Linked DNA regions of Homo sapiens: all the other regions are linked to region 1. The links are contacts of gene promoters, found by promoter capture Hi-C in human tissues and cell types (Jung and others, 2019). All regions are on one chromosome and are shown on one strand. The core of a region is centred on a gene start or on the middle of the fragment in contact, and the rest is flanking DNA. Distances in the headings are between cores, read along the strand shown. Region 1 holds the start of C1orf167 (chromosome 1 open reading frame 167). Region 2 has its middle 21 kb from the start of UBIAD1. Region 3 has its middle 7.6 kb from the start of MIR7846.

Evidence for each region. The method cuts DNA at HindIII sites, captures the fragments that hold promoters and counts their contacts. A contact is called where the count stands out against the background at its distance.
Region 2: a contact is called between a fragment that was not itself captured here and the fragment with the promoter of C1orf167 in region 1, in 1 of the 25 tissues and cell types used here (mesendoderm cells).
Region 3: a contact is called between a fragment that was not itself captured here and the fragment with the promoter of C1orf167 in region 1, in 1 of the 25 tissues and cell types used here (spleen).

What each region holds. Positions count from the first base shown.
Region 1 is chr1:11,759,654-11,763,984 of GRCh38, reverse strand. It overlaps C1orf167 (chromosome 1 open reading frame 167), which reads right to left and starts at 1,792. Exons shown (of 21, transcript NM_001010881.2): 1 at 1,680-1,792. It also overlaps the pseudogene LOC101060126. The HindIII fragment of the contact is 8,265 bases long and covers 1-4,106 here.
Region 2 is chr1:11,291,550-11,295,880 of GRCh38, reverse strand. It overlaps a transcript of UBIAD1 not described here. Among named protein-coding and RNA genes, the nearest start is that of UBIAD1, 21 kb to the right of the region's middle. The HindIII fragment of the contact is 6,178 bases long and covers 1-4,331 here.
Region 3 is chr1:12,157,130-12,161,460 of GRCh38, reverse strand. No RefSeq gene overlaps it. Among named protein-coding and RNA genes, the nearest start is that of MIR7846, 7.6 kb to the left of the region's middle. RefSeq lists enhancers at 1-127, 128-637. The HindIII fragment of the contact is 9,635 bases long and covers 1-4,331 here.

The DNA of each region.
Region 1 (4,331 bases), core at 543-3,042:
CCTCGCAACCAGCTCTCTCCCATCTTGGTGCCCCCCTTTTCCACGGATGGCAGCTCCGGCCTTCTGGTGGCTCAAACAAAAATCCTGGAGCCACCCCGATTCCCCTTCTCCCTCACACCAGTGGCTGCTCTGACAGGCTCTGCCTCCCACACGCATCCAGGATCTGACCCCTGGAGCACTGGGCGGAGTGGCCCTCACCTGCCACCTCCCAACTGGTCACCCTTATTCTGCCTCGTCCTCACGCCCGACAGCCTCCTCTTCATGCGGCGGCAGGGTGATCCTGTAAACACTGAAATCAAATCATGCCCTGCCTCAACTCTAATGCCACAGAAGCTCTCCAGCCCCCTCAATGCCCCGTGAGCCTTCAAGGCTGTAGGCCAGAGGTTAGCAAATTACTGCCTGGGCCAGTGGTCTATTATGTGAATAAAGTTATATTGAAACAAAGCCCATTTGTTTACAGACTGTCTGCTTTCCAGCTGCAATAGCAGAGCTCAATAGCTGCAAGATACCTTAGGCTGCAAAACCTTTTTTTTTTTTTTTTTGAGCCGGAGTCTCACTTTGCCACCCAGGCTGGTACAATGGCGTGATCCCGGCTCACTGCAACCTCCGCCTGCCTCCCTGGGCTCAAGGGATCCTCCCACCTCAGCCTCTAACAAGCTGGAACCACAGGCACATGCCACCACGCCAGACTAATTTTTCTATTTTTTGGTAGAGACAGGGTTTCACCATGATGGCCAGGATGGTCTCGAACTCCTGACCTCAGGTGATTGGCCCGCCTCGGCCTCCCAAAGTGCTGGGATTACAGGCGTGAGCCACCACACCCAGCCCCGCAAAGTCTTTAAAATCTGGCTGCCAGTTATGGTCCTCCCCAATTCCTCTTCCCCTTGCCCACTGTCCTCCACACACACCAGCCCCCTGGCTGCTCCTCCAAATGGCACACACGACCTCACCTCAGCGCCTCTGTGCTGCTGTCCCCTCTGCCTTCAAGTCTTGCCTCCCACATCACAGTGAGCCCTCCCTGCCCACTGTCTCTCCAACTGCAGCAACCTGGCCTCTCCTCACTCTCTTTGCCCTGCACTTGCGGCCACCTAACATAGTGAAGAAATTAGTGTATTTCTCCCTCCAGTGGCCTAGGAGCCACACGAGGGCAGGCTGGTTTTTTTTGTTTGTTTGTTTCCCTGCTGGATTTGCAGCCCATAGAACAATGCCTGACCCCCAGCAGGGGCTTGTAAATGCACATTGAATAAATGACAACCGTGCTAGGCACCTTGCAGCCTTCAGCAGGCGTCCTGCCATTTAATCTGCACTGCAGCCCTGGGACTTAGGTTCCCTGTTTTAGAAATGAGGACAGGAGCTTAGAAGGGCCTGTCCCACCCAAGGCCTCAGAGGGAGCACCCCAGGGCTGGCTCCACAGCGCAGACTCCTAACCAAGAACACCCCACCATCCCCTCTTGCCCAAGTTGACTTGAGGCCGCTCAATCCACAGGAGACCTTCCTGCACCCCTGCCCCTCACGCCGGAGCTCTTCGGTCCATTTCTCCGCTCCTCGTCCGTCTCCCTCAGACTCCCCCCTCCCACTCCACCCCCACCCCTGTCCACTTAAGGGGGCTCACAGCCTCCCTCCTCTTGCCACCAAAAGAGTCTGAGGTCAGTTTCCTGCCCTCATGGATCTGCCCTCACGTGCGTGGGTCCTCCTCGGGTCCTCCTTCACCCAGTCGGATTTGAATCTAGACGGGGGCTGGGACCGCTAACGATCCCCGCAGGTCGGCAGGTCGCGGGCGGGAGGGGACGTCGGAGAGCAGAGCGTGCTGCCCCGCGCTTGGCCCCGCCCAGCCCTGAGCCGTGGGCGTGGCCACCGACGTCCTGGTACAGGTTTTGCCGGGTCCTCCGCAGGCAAGGCACGTGGTCCCAGGGCAACTTTTGCACGTGCAAGATGAGCGACATTCTCTTGGCCATCAGGTCCCCGGGAACCTCCTCCACCCTCTGCCCCGAATCCTGTGGCAGCATCACTGGGGTCTGGGCTTCCTCCACCAGGCGTGCCTCCTCTTGGCTCCTTCCCGCACCTAGAGCTGCCTCCTGGAGCCCCCGCACATCTGGGATACCCCCAGCCATGTCCCCACCACCTATGCCTCTTGGGGCTGCAGGACATGCCCCCGGCTCCCACTGGTAGGAACCCCAGGGGCAGGACATCCGGGTCATGGACACTCACATCCTCACCCGTTCCCAATAGGTGCGATGTCCCATCCAGGGATGTCTCAGATGCAGCTGGCAAACCATGGCCCTCATGGCTGAGGACACACCCGTGATGGGACCCCAGGATCTGGGGGGCAGCCACCACCCTGATCACCACCTGGAATGCCTCATCCTGGACCTCCTCCAATGAGCATGTCCCCCAAGGGGTCTCGGTCTGGATCTCCCATGGGTCACTCACGTCCTATGCCTCCATGGTATGTGTGGACCTCCTCCACCGATGCTGCCTCATGGATACACTGGCCCTCCCCAACACCCACCCTATGGCTTCCGGGGGGGACTCTCCCTCCACCCAGACCCACTCCGGGGCCTCCAGTTCCCCCTCAAGGCCCACTTTGGGGCCCTCTCCCTCAGTAAATTCACATTCTTCTTCCTCCTGTTATATCTTCCCAATATCTTTTTGATTCCTTGGACCAGAGATGCTGCAGCTCCTTGCAACTAAGGCACAAATCCCTTTCAGCCTTCCCATCTTCCTTTTTAATGCCATTTTTTTCCCCATAGAAGGTATTTCTTTTTCATGTTGGTCCTAAGTATTTTGCAAATGCAAAGGAAAATAAAACTATAACAAATTTCTTGTTAAAAGAAAGAAAGAAAGAAAGGCTAGGCACAGTGGCTCACACCTGTAATCCCAGCACTTTGGGAGGCTGAGGTGGACGGATCACAAGATCAGGAGTTCAAGACCAGCCTGGCCAACATGGTGAAACCCTGTCTCTACTAAAAATACAAAAATTAGCCGGGCATGGTGGCGGGCACCTGTAATCCCAGCTACTCAGGAGGCTGAGGCAGGAGAATCACTTGAACCTGGGAGGCAAGGGTTGCAGAGAGCCAAGATCCTGCCATTGCACTCCAGCCTGAGCAACAGACCAAGACTCTGTCTCAAAAAAAAAAAAAAAAAAAAAAGAAAAAAAGAAAAGAAAAGAAAAGGCTGGATGTGGTGGCTCATGCCTGTAATCCCAGCACTTTGGGAGGCCGAGGCAGCCGGATCACTTGAGGTCAGGAGTTCAAGACCAGCCTGGCCAACATGGCAAAATCCCATCTCTATTAAAAATACAAAAAGTAGCTGGTGTGATGGTGTGCACCTGTAATCCCAGCTATTCAGGAGGCTGAGGCAGGAGAATTGCTTGGACCTGGGAGGTGGAGGTTGCAGTGAGTGGTGATCATGCCACTACCCTCCAGCCTGGGTGACAGAGTGAGATTCTGTTTCAAAAAAGAAAAAAAGAAAGAAAAGAAAAGAAAAAAAAGAAAGAAAAACTCTCCCAGCCTTCAGGCACCTCAGAAACTGGCTGGACTCCACCTTAATACCCAAGCTTTGCCGTGCCGTCAGCCTAGCTCGATCACACTTCCTTCAAGGCTGCAAAGGTCCGTCCACTTTCCACCTCCCAAACCTTTGCCCACATTGTTCCCCACTGTGCCCAGCCATCCCACTCCTTCCTCTGTCCAGACTGTATGTTTTCTCCTTTCTAAGCACCTGCTGGGAGAGGAAAGAGCACTCAGTCAGAAAACCTGTGATGAACTCCTTCTGCTGGCCAGGCGCAGTGGCTCACACCTGCAATCCCAGCACTTGGGCAGGCTGAGGTGGGAGGCTCTCATAAGCCCAGGAATTCAAGACCAGCCTGGGCAACATTGCAAGACCTCATCACTACAAAAAAAAATACAAAAATCATCCGGCTGTGGTGGTGCACACCTGTGGTCCCACCTACTTGGGAGGCTGAGGCAGTAAGATTGCTTGAGCCCAGGAGTTCAAGGCTTCAGTGAGCTACGATCATGTCACTGCACTCCAGCCTGGGCAACAGAGTGAGACCCTGTCTCAAAAAAAAAAAAAATCCTTCTGCTGCTGTGTGATCTTAGGCAAGTCCCTAACCTCTCTAAACCTAAGGTTCCTCATATGTAAAAGGGGGATGGTTAGGCCCGATGCAATGGCTCACGCCTGTAATCCCAGTACTTTGGGAGGCCAAGGTGGGTGGATCACTTGAGGTCAGGAGTTCCAGACCAGCCTGGCCAACATGGCGAAACCCCGTCTCTACTAAAAATATAAAAATTAGCTTGGTAGTGGTGGTGCGTGCCTGTAGTCCCAGCTACTGG
Region 2 (4,331 bases), core at 733-3,232, 470 kb after region 1:
TGTATGCATGTAGCTTTTGCTATTAGTTCACTGTGTGTCCTCAAAGGGCAGGGGTGTGCCTCGTTTATCTTGCCTCCTGGGACAGAGCAGGCTCTCAGTAAAGGTCTTTGGCCAAGGCAAGTGTCAGCTGGAAGGCCCTCATTGGTGACCATGGTGACCTCTGACCCCCTCAGCACTTCCCCTGAATCTGAGGGCCTCCCACCTGGTATTCCCTTGGCCTCAATGTGGCCCAGGGCTGAGGGGCTCCCCTGACTCGCAGGAGACTTGGGCTCAGCGCTCCTGCTTCACGGGATGCTTTCCCTGGCCTTGTCTCTCCAGGCCATTCATCTTGATTAGGTATTGGCAGCTGTGGATGATTAAATGCCCCGCCATTCTCTCTTGTTTGTTTCTCAGCAAGGAAGTGTCGGAGTTTTCATTCTGCAGAAGGCTTTGACCTTGGCAGTGGTCAGAGTGCCCTTGGCACACCTGCCTCAATGCTCCAGTTGTCTAACTGCACAGCCAAAAGAGGCTGATTAAGGAAAACTTCGAGTCTTACTCTCTCAGGCAGCAACAGGGGGGCTTTCTCCAGCTGGGGGAATTGAGCTGTCCATCAGCACCTCGGTTTCCATGGAACAGTCACCTCTTATGGCCACCTCTTCCTAGAAACCTTGATCGCCGCTCATTGTCACCTCTTCCTGGAAGCCTTCCTGATACCCAGCAGCCCCATCTCTACCTTGATGTTCTGTGGTCGTTGTTTATTCTATGGTTCACGTGTGTCAACTTCCTCTCCCTCCACACAGCACACTGAACCCGAAGAGTTGAGTATCCTGTGTCCTGAACATGCATACAATTGTCAGCTCCAGATGCTGCCCACCCCGAGGCAGGAAGGGGCTCACTTCCCTCTCCTCGAAGGTGGCCAGCCCCATTCTCAGGAGGCAGGTCTAGAAGGCAGGTCACTAGGCAGTTTCTGGGAGCTTGAGCACTGGCTGCTCCTGATGTGGGCACTCTGCTTCAGTGGCTAGATGAGGACTGGAAGAGACGAGACGAATGAGGACAGACAGATGAGGGGACAGGAGCATAAATTTAACCTGAGACTGAACCTTCGCCTCCATCATCGTGGGTAGGCAGGAGCCACTCTCCATTATCTGGGGATGGGCAGACTTTGACTTGTAACTTTCGCCCAGCCAGCCAGAGTAGGTTAGACCAACAAGCTTAGTTACTATCCCCACAGAGCTGGCCCCTGGGGGTGTTGGTAGGAATGCCACCAGCCAGGAAGCAGCCATCCCACCCTGATGGGAACCACCTCTGTGGCACTGGCACATGGGCCACCTCTGTAGGCCTATAGCTGGCCCCAACACTCACACACTTGGGAGCGGCTAAGGGCAGACCAATGGATTGAGTCCCTTACAAGCAAGGAACTGCAGGGCAAGAGAGATGAGGGGCAGTTTGTAGTGAAGGCTGGGTGTGGTGGCTCACACCTGTAGTCCCAACGCTTTGGGAGGCCAAGGTAAGACTGCTTGAGGCCAGGAGTTTGAGACCAGCCTGGCCAACATAATGAGACCCTGTCTCAATTTTTTAATTAAAAATAATAATAATAAAAGAACTTGCACTGAATTAGAGCAAGATTTGAATCATGGTTCTATCACTTACTAGCCAGATGACCCTAGACAAGTTTAATAATCTCCCTGAACCTCAGTTTCCTCTCTTATGAAAAAGAGACCTTAATATCCAATTCGTGGGGTTGTTATGAGCACTAAAAGAATGTATTTAAGCATCAGAACAGTGCCTGGTCCATAGTGAGCATTCAACAAATGACAGCTTTATTACTGCCATTCCCTCGGCCAGTCATCCAACGTTTATTTATTTAGAGACTTCTACGTGCCAGGAATATGAGCTGGATCTTAAAAGCTCTTAAGAGTACTGCCATGGGGCCAGGCACAGTGGCTCATGCCTGTAATCCAAGCACTTTGGGAGGCTGAGGCAGGTGGATCACCTGAGATCAGTTCGAAACCAGCCTGGCCAACATGGTGAAATCCCGTTTCTACTACAAATACAAAAATTAGCTGGGCATGGTGGTGGGTGCCTGTAATCCCAGCTGCTTGGGAGGCTGAGGCAGGAGAATCGCTTGAACTCAGGAGGCAGAGGTTGCAGCGAGCCGAGATCGTGCCATTGCACTCCAGCCTGGGTGACAAGAGCAAAACTCCATCTCAAAATAATAATAATAATAAGTTACTGCCATGGTTCTCCTCTACTCCCAACCCCAAGTGGAACTCACCTGTCCTTACTGACAGCTGATGTGATGCAGTGGTCCAAACTCTCACACCTGTCAGTCAGCCCTGGAGGGCCCAGCCCTTCCCATGTAACTCAGTCATTCAACAACCAGTTACTGACTGCCTGCTCTGTTGCACCATGCACTGTGCTAGTGCTGAGATGGGCTGGAAAAGAAAACATGGTCCTTATACTCTAGTCCTACCACTTACTGGGAGAAATTGACAATAAACATGTTGGCAAAATAATAGGTGAGTAACACATGCTATGCTTTTGTCTTCCCTGTTAAACCCATTTGTGATCCTAATGGGAGGCAATTCTAAGCCAAGCTGGGGGAGACAGGGGCCAGGATATGGCAGGACCGTGGGAGTGCGGAATTTGGAGGACCCCTTGAATCACACCACACAGAGCCCTGCCCCTTGGGATCCCTTAACATCATAGAAGCGCCCAGACCAACTTGTGATACCCCACTCAGCCTGGTTGGGAGCATGTGATCAAAGCCCTCACTGTTCCTCCCAGAGCTCCAGCATCTTCTGAAGTGAGTCTGTGCCTTGCAATTACAGCCTTTCCCTGACCCCAGGAAGCCGTTTGCAAGCCTCCTGATGAGCCCAGACTCAGCCTTTGCCCCCTCCTCAGGCAGGAACCCAACTTGGTTTATACCACCATTTGCCATCCTAGCTTAGTCACTCACAGTGGGAGGGCTGTCCCAGTTTGAAGAAGGGCAGGTCACAAATGTCAACTGGCTGGAACCCAAGTGCCAGGTTCTTGCCAGAGGCATTCCTTTTACACCAGCCTGCACAGTCTGGAGCCCATAATGAAAGAGGCTGACAGTCCATTAGCAGCAGAGTGGTCCGCAGGGCTCAGAGAGGAGCTGTCATCCCTCTCACTTCAAGGGCTTTCGAGGTGAAATCAACTCTGTGAGTGTGTGTGTGTGTGTGTGTGTGTGTGTGTGTGTGTGTGTGTGTATACATAAAATCTTTTAAAAAAAGAATATCAATCACAGCTGTTCCTGTTAAGATGGCCAGACAGTCAACAGTCTGACATCAAGAAGAAATGTCAACACGGCTCTTGTACTCTGTCCTCCCAACCCGTGGGGCAGGTCTGAAAGACTATCCCGTAATAACAGAACAACTGAATCACAGGATTGGAAGACCCTTAGAGGTCTTCTCATCCAACGCCTCTCTGATGCGACTCTTCACACCCATGTTCCTGACGAGGAATCATCTTTTCGCTTGAATGCCTCTAGTCACAAGGAACTCACCCCCAACTGAGACATTCTGAACATCCCCCTCGCTGATTCCTCTAATGGCTAAGAAACCTTCCTGATCTGGCCAGGTGTGGTGGCTCAAGCCTGTAATCCCAGTACTTTGGGAGGCCGAGGCAGGTGGATCACCTGAGGTCAGGAGTTCAAAACCAGCCTGGCCAACATGGTGAAACCCCATCTATACTAAAAACACAAAAATTAGCTGGACATGGTGGCACACACCTGTTAATCCCAGCTACTCAGGAGGCTGAGGCAGGAGAATCGCTTGAACCCTGGAGGCAGAGGTTGCAGCGAGCTGAGATTGCACCATTGCACTCCAGCCTGGGCGACAAGAGCGAAACTCCGTCTCAAAAAAAAAAAGAAAAAAGAAAGAATGAAAGAAACCTTCCTGAGCTAAGAGCTTCAACTTGGGGACATATAACTTCTACCCATTAGTCCTAGTTTTACCCTTTGAAGCCACACGCAAAAAAAAGTTTTAAAAAAAAAAGTCCAACCCGTCTTCCCGAAGACAGCCTTCTTGTGACTCTCCTTTCCAGGCTGACATGGCTTTATGTGCCCCCACCCATCTGCCAACCGCATTCAGGACAAGATCCACTTTGTTGATAACATCTTCAAAGTGTGGTTCTTACACTGAGAAATGGAAATCTCTACTGCAGCCGTTACCAATGCAAACACACACGCGTGCACACACATGCATATAGAAAGCAAGCTCCTGTAATTGTCTTTTCATCCATTCCATATTTCTTTTTTTTTTTTTTTTTTTGAGATGAAGTCTCGCTCTGTCACCCAGGCTGGAGTGCAGTGGCACGATCTTAGCTGA
Region 3 (4,331 bases), core at 807-3,306, 400 kb before region 1:
GCAGCTCCACTTGGTGATGGCTGCCTAGGGCTCTGTGTTGAGAAGGACTCTGAGCCTGGGCTCTGCAGGAAAGGATGCAGGATGGAGCAGCCCGGTGTGCCCTGGGCGGGAAGGGGTTGGCCTCAGCACAAACACCTGGCCTTTGCCATCTCTGGATTAGACCAAGTGCCCCTCTTGTCCTGAAGTTGTGTGGAGTGGGGTGCAGATGTGTGGGGTGGGTGCACCAGATGTGTGCGGTGGGGCACAGCAGGGCTAGGCTTGACTCCAAACCCCTGCCTTTATCGGCACAAGGCAGGTCTTGCCTGACCTGTGGGAATGATTGCCCAGGTAGAGGGGTGCACAGTTTGCCCTTTATGCAGAGCCTTTTCCTGACAGGAAATTCTCCTTTTCATCCTACTGCAAAGCACACTGCTGTATTTTACACACAGCAGTAACATTTTTTTTTTTTGAGACAGGGTCTCACTCTGCCACCCAGGTTGGAGTGCAGTGGCGCAATCACAGCTCGCTGCAGCCTCAACCTCCTGGTCTCAAGTGATCTTCCCACCTCAGCCTCCTGAGTAGGTGGGACCACAGGTGCATGCCACCATGCCTGGCTAATGTATTTTTTGTAGAGACGGGTTTTCGCCATGTTACCCAGGCTGTTTTCGAATTCCTAGGCTCAAATGATCCTCCCACTTCTGCCTTCCAAAGTACTAGGATTATAGGTGTTAGCCACCATGCCCAGCCTTTTTTGTTGTTGTTGTTGAGACAGAGTTTCGATCTGTCGCCCAGGCTGGAGTGAAATGGCTTGATCTTGGCTCACTGCAACCTCCGCCTCCCCCAGCTTCAAGCGATTCTCCTGCCTCAGCCTCCCAAGTAGCTGGGATTACAGGTGCCCACCACCATGCCTGGCTAATTTTTTGCATTTTCTTTAGCAGAGACGGGGTTTCGCCATGTTGGCCAGGCTGGTCTCAAACTCCTGAGCTCAAAAGTGATCCACCCACTTCAGTAGCCTCCCAAAGTGCTGGAATTACAGGCATGAGCCACCATGCCCAGCCTTTTTTTTTTTTTTTAAGTTTTCTTCTAGTTACACTTTATCTTATTATTTTTAATAGTAGAGAAGGGTTTCACTATGTTGCCCAGGCCAGTCTCAAACTTCTGAGCTCAAGTGATCCACCCACCTAGGCCTCCAAAAGTGCTGGGATTACAGGCCCCACTACACCCAGCCTCCCAGCAGTAACCTTTTTAACCCTACATTATCTTTGTTTAGATTTTTTTTTTTAGAAATTAAAAAAATTAAAGCATCATATAAAAAATCCATATTCCACTACCCAGAACTGACCAGTGGTAACAGCCAGGGTTGCCCTCACTCCTCCCTGAGCCCGCTGGCCCGGCCGCCCTTGCTGGAACACACAAAGCATTCTCCCACCTTGAGGCCTTCGCACTGGCAGTTCCCTCTGCCTGGATCACCTTTCCTCCAGATACCTGCATGACTCACTTCCCCTTATCAGTCTCTGCTCAAATGCCACATCCTCAGAGAGGCATCCCTGGCACCCCGCCCCCGCCCCCCCGCCCCCAACCAAAATAGCTACTTTACTTTTCTTAATAGCAGTTGTTATAATTTCTCTTTGGATCTGTTTATCATCTGTTTCTCCCATGAAGGCAGGGAACTTGTCTGTTTTGTTTTGCTCTCTGCTGGGTCCCCAGCAGCTAAGAAGCTGCACAGATATCAAATATATATATATAAAATGTGTGTGTATATATATACATAAATTTTTTTTTTTTTTTGAGATGGAGTCCCGCTCTGTTGCCCAGGCTGGAGTGCAGTGGTGTGATCTCAGCTCACTGCAACCTCTGCCTCCTGGGTTCAAGTGATTCTCATGCCTCAGCCTCCCAAGTAGCTGAGATTACAGGCATGTGTCACCATGCCTGGACAATTTTTTTTTTTTTTTTTTTGAGACGGAGTCTCTCTCTATTGCCCAGGCTGGAGAGCAATGGCGCGATCTTGGCTCACTGCAACCTCCGCCTGCCAGGTTCAAGCCATTCTCCTGCCTCAGCCTCCTGAGTAGCTGGGATTACAGGCATGTGCCACCACGCCTGGCTAATTTTTGTATTTTTAGGTAGAGACGGAGTTTCACCATGTTGGTCAGGCTGGTCTCGAACTCCTGACCTCGTGATCCGCCCGCCTCGGCCTCCCAAAGTGCTGGGATTACAGGCGTGAGCCACCTCGCCCGGCCTTCAATTAGATATTTAAAAAAAAATAGTAGGCTCTCAGTAAACATATGTTGATTATTTTTTGCTTCAAATACTTTTATAATTCAAATGGAAATCCTTGACACCCAGCCAAAGTTGTAGTCCCCTTGATTCAGCCCCCAAAAGAGCAATTCCTCTGGGTTTGTGGTGTTTCTCACCAGTCCGTTTTCTGCTTCCACACACCAATGTAGAGTGTTATTCTAGATACACGCGTCTACATCTACACAAACGATGAAACACCAGGTGCGCCGTCCTGCCCCTTGCTTTTTTCCCCTCGGCTGTGTTTCTGAGAACTTTCCATATTGATGAGTTCAGATCCGCTTATTGTTTCTACCTGCTGCTGCTGCTACTCGGTGCTGCGCCTGCCCGGTGCCTGTCTCACACCTTGCTGCCCCGCTCCCCTGGAATGGGCCTTTGGGGTGTTTGCACTTTGGCTCCACTGCACACACTGAGATGCGCGTTCCTGCATCTGTCTCCCAATGCCCAAGGTTGAATGTTTCTCAAGGTCTTAAACCTGGAAAGTAGAACTGCTGGGCAGTGGCAGGCCGTGGGTTTGCATGTTTTCATTTTCACGGGGCCCTGCCAAATTCCTCTCAGGGGGCTGCACCCTGGACACTCCTGCCAGCAGCGTGTGAGAGTCCCAATCCCCACATCTGCAGCGGGGCGGGGGGCGTTTGATCTTGTCAGTGGGTTTCCTTTTACAGCCCTTTGTATTTTCAAAGGGCTTTCAATTCTCCCTTTCAATTCTTTTCAATTCTTTCAGCCTCATCGTGGCCCTGCCAAGTGAGTGTTACCCTTTCCAGGATCCTGGTCTCTCCACTTCTAACTCCCAACCCGTAACCCCTCCAAACCCACTCTCTGTCCCCCTTCCCCAACCCCCACTTTCCAAAACCCACACCCCACCAAAACCTCCCCATTTCACTGGTCTCTCCAAGTAGCAGCTGGAGCCATCTGTGGACCACAATTTTCTAGACAAAGTCTCAAACATAAGCAACAGCTGCCTTTCCACCATATATCCTATGAACTCTGGCCTCAGTTTCCCCACTGGCCCTGAGTTCCCCTCTTTTCCTCTTTACAAACAAGGCCACTCTGGCCTGGGGAGGAACGTGATTCCCCTCATCTGGTCCCTCCTCCTCCCACCCCCTTCCTCTTTTTTGTCAATAAACCTTAGGTATTTCAAAATTTGGGGGCGGGTCTGAATGGAATCTTTTTTTTTTTTTTTTTTTTCGTAACTTCTCTCTCACTCTCATATTTTGGACCTCAGGTACAGAGAGTTGAGTGAATCATACTGCACAGATCTTGCTGTACAAGGTTCCTCTCTGGCCTGATTTTTTTCCTCAATCCCTGTTCTCATCCTCCTCTGCACCTCTCCAACAATCAGTGTGTCCTTATAAAACATGTGGTGGCGTTTGCAGGTGTTTGAATTTCTCTGGAGTAGGACTGCTGGATCGGGGAGTATTTGTTTACCTATTTCACTAACACTGCCAGAAATTTCTCCAGGACTGTGTTCTTGATGTAGAAGCTGGTTTTTAAAAAAGAAAAGAGAGAATTTCTCCAGGATGACCACCCCAGTGATGCCACCACTGTCAGGACTATAGGGTTTCTACCACTCTCTTGCCCCCACACTCGTGATTAGCCAATGTTCTGATTTGGGCCGATCTGATGGGTGTGAAGTGGAGCCCGGTGTCATTTCATTTGCATTTCTCTGAATATCCGTGGGTTTGAGCACCTCTTCATTACTTGTTAGTCATTTGGGTTTTCCCTTCTGTGAACTGCCTATTCACATCCTTTGACCATATTTCTATTATTTCCTGTCTTTTTCTTGTAGCTTTGCAATAATTCCTTGCATGCGCTAGATATCAATCCCTTGTCATTTTTAGATATCACAAATACTTCCTCCACTCTGTCGCCTATTTGGTATCCTTGCTGATGGTGTCCTTTATTGTTGGCAAAAAAATTCTTAATTTTAATGCAATGGAATCCATCAATGTTTCGCCATTTGAATTGCATTTGAATTCCCTACTTATGGGTAATGAAAGAAAATATAGAAAAGTATCATCATGACCTATAGGTAGAGCTACTCATAGGTTATGAAGATA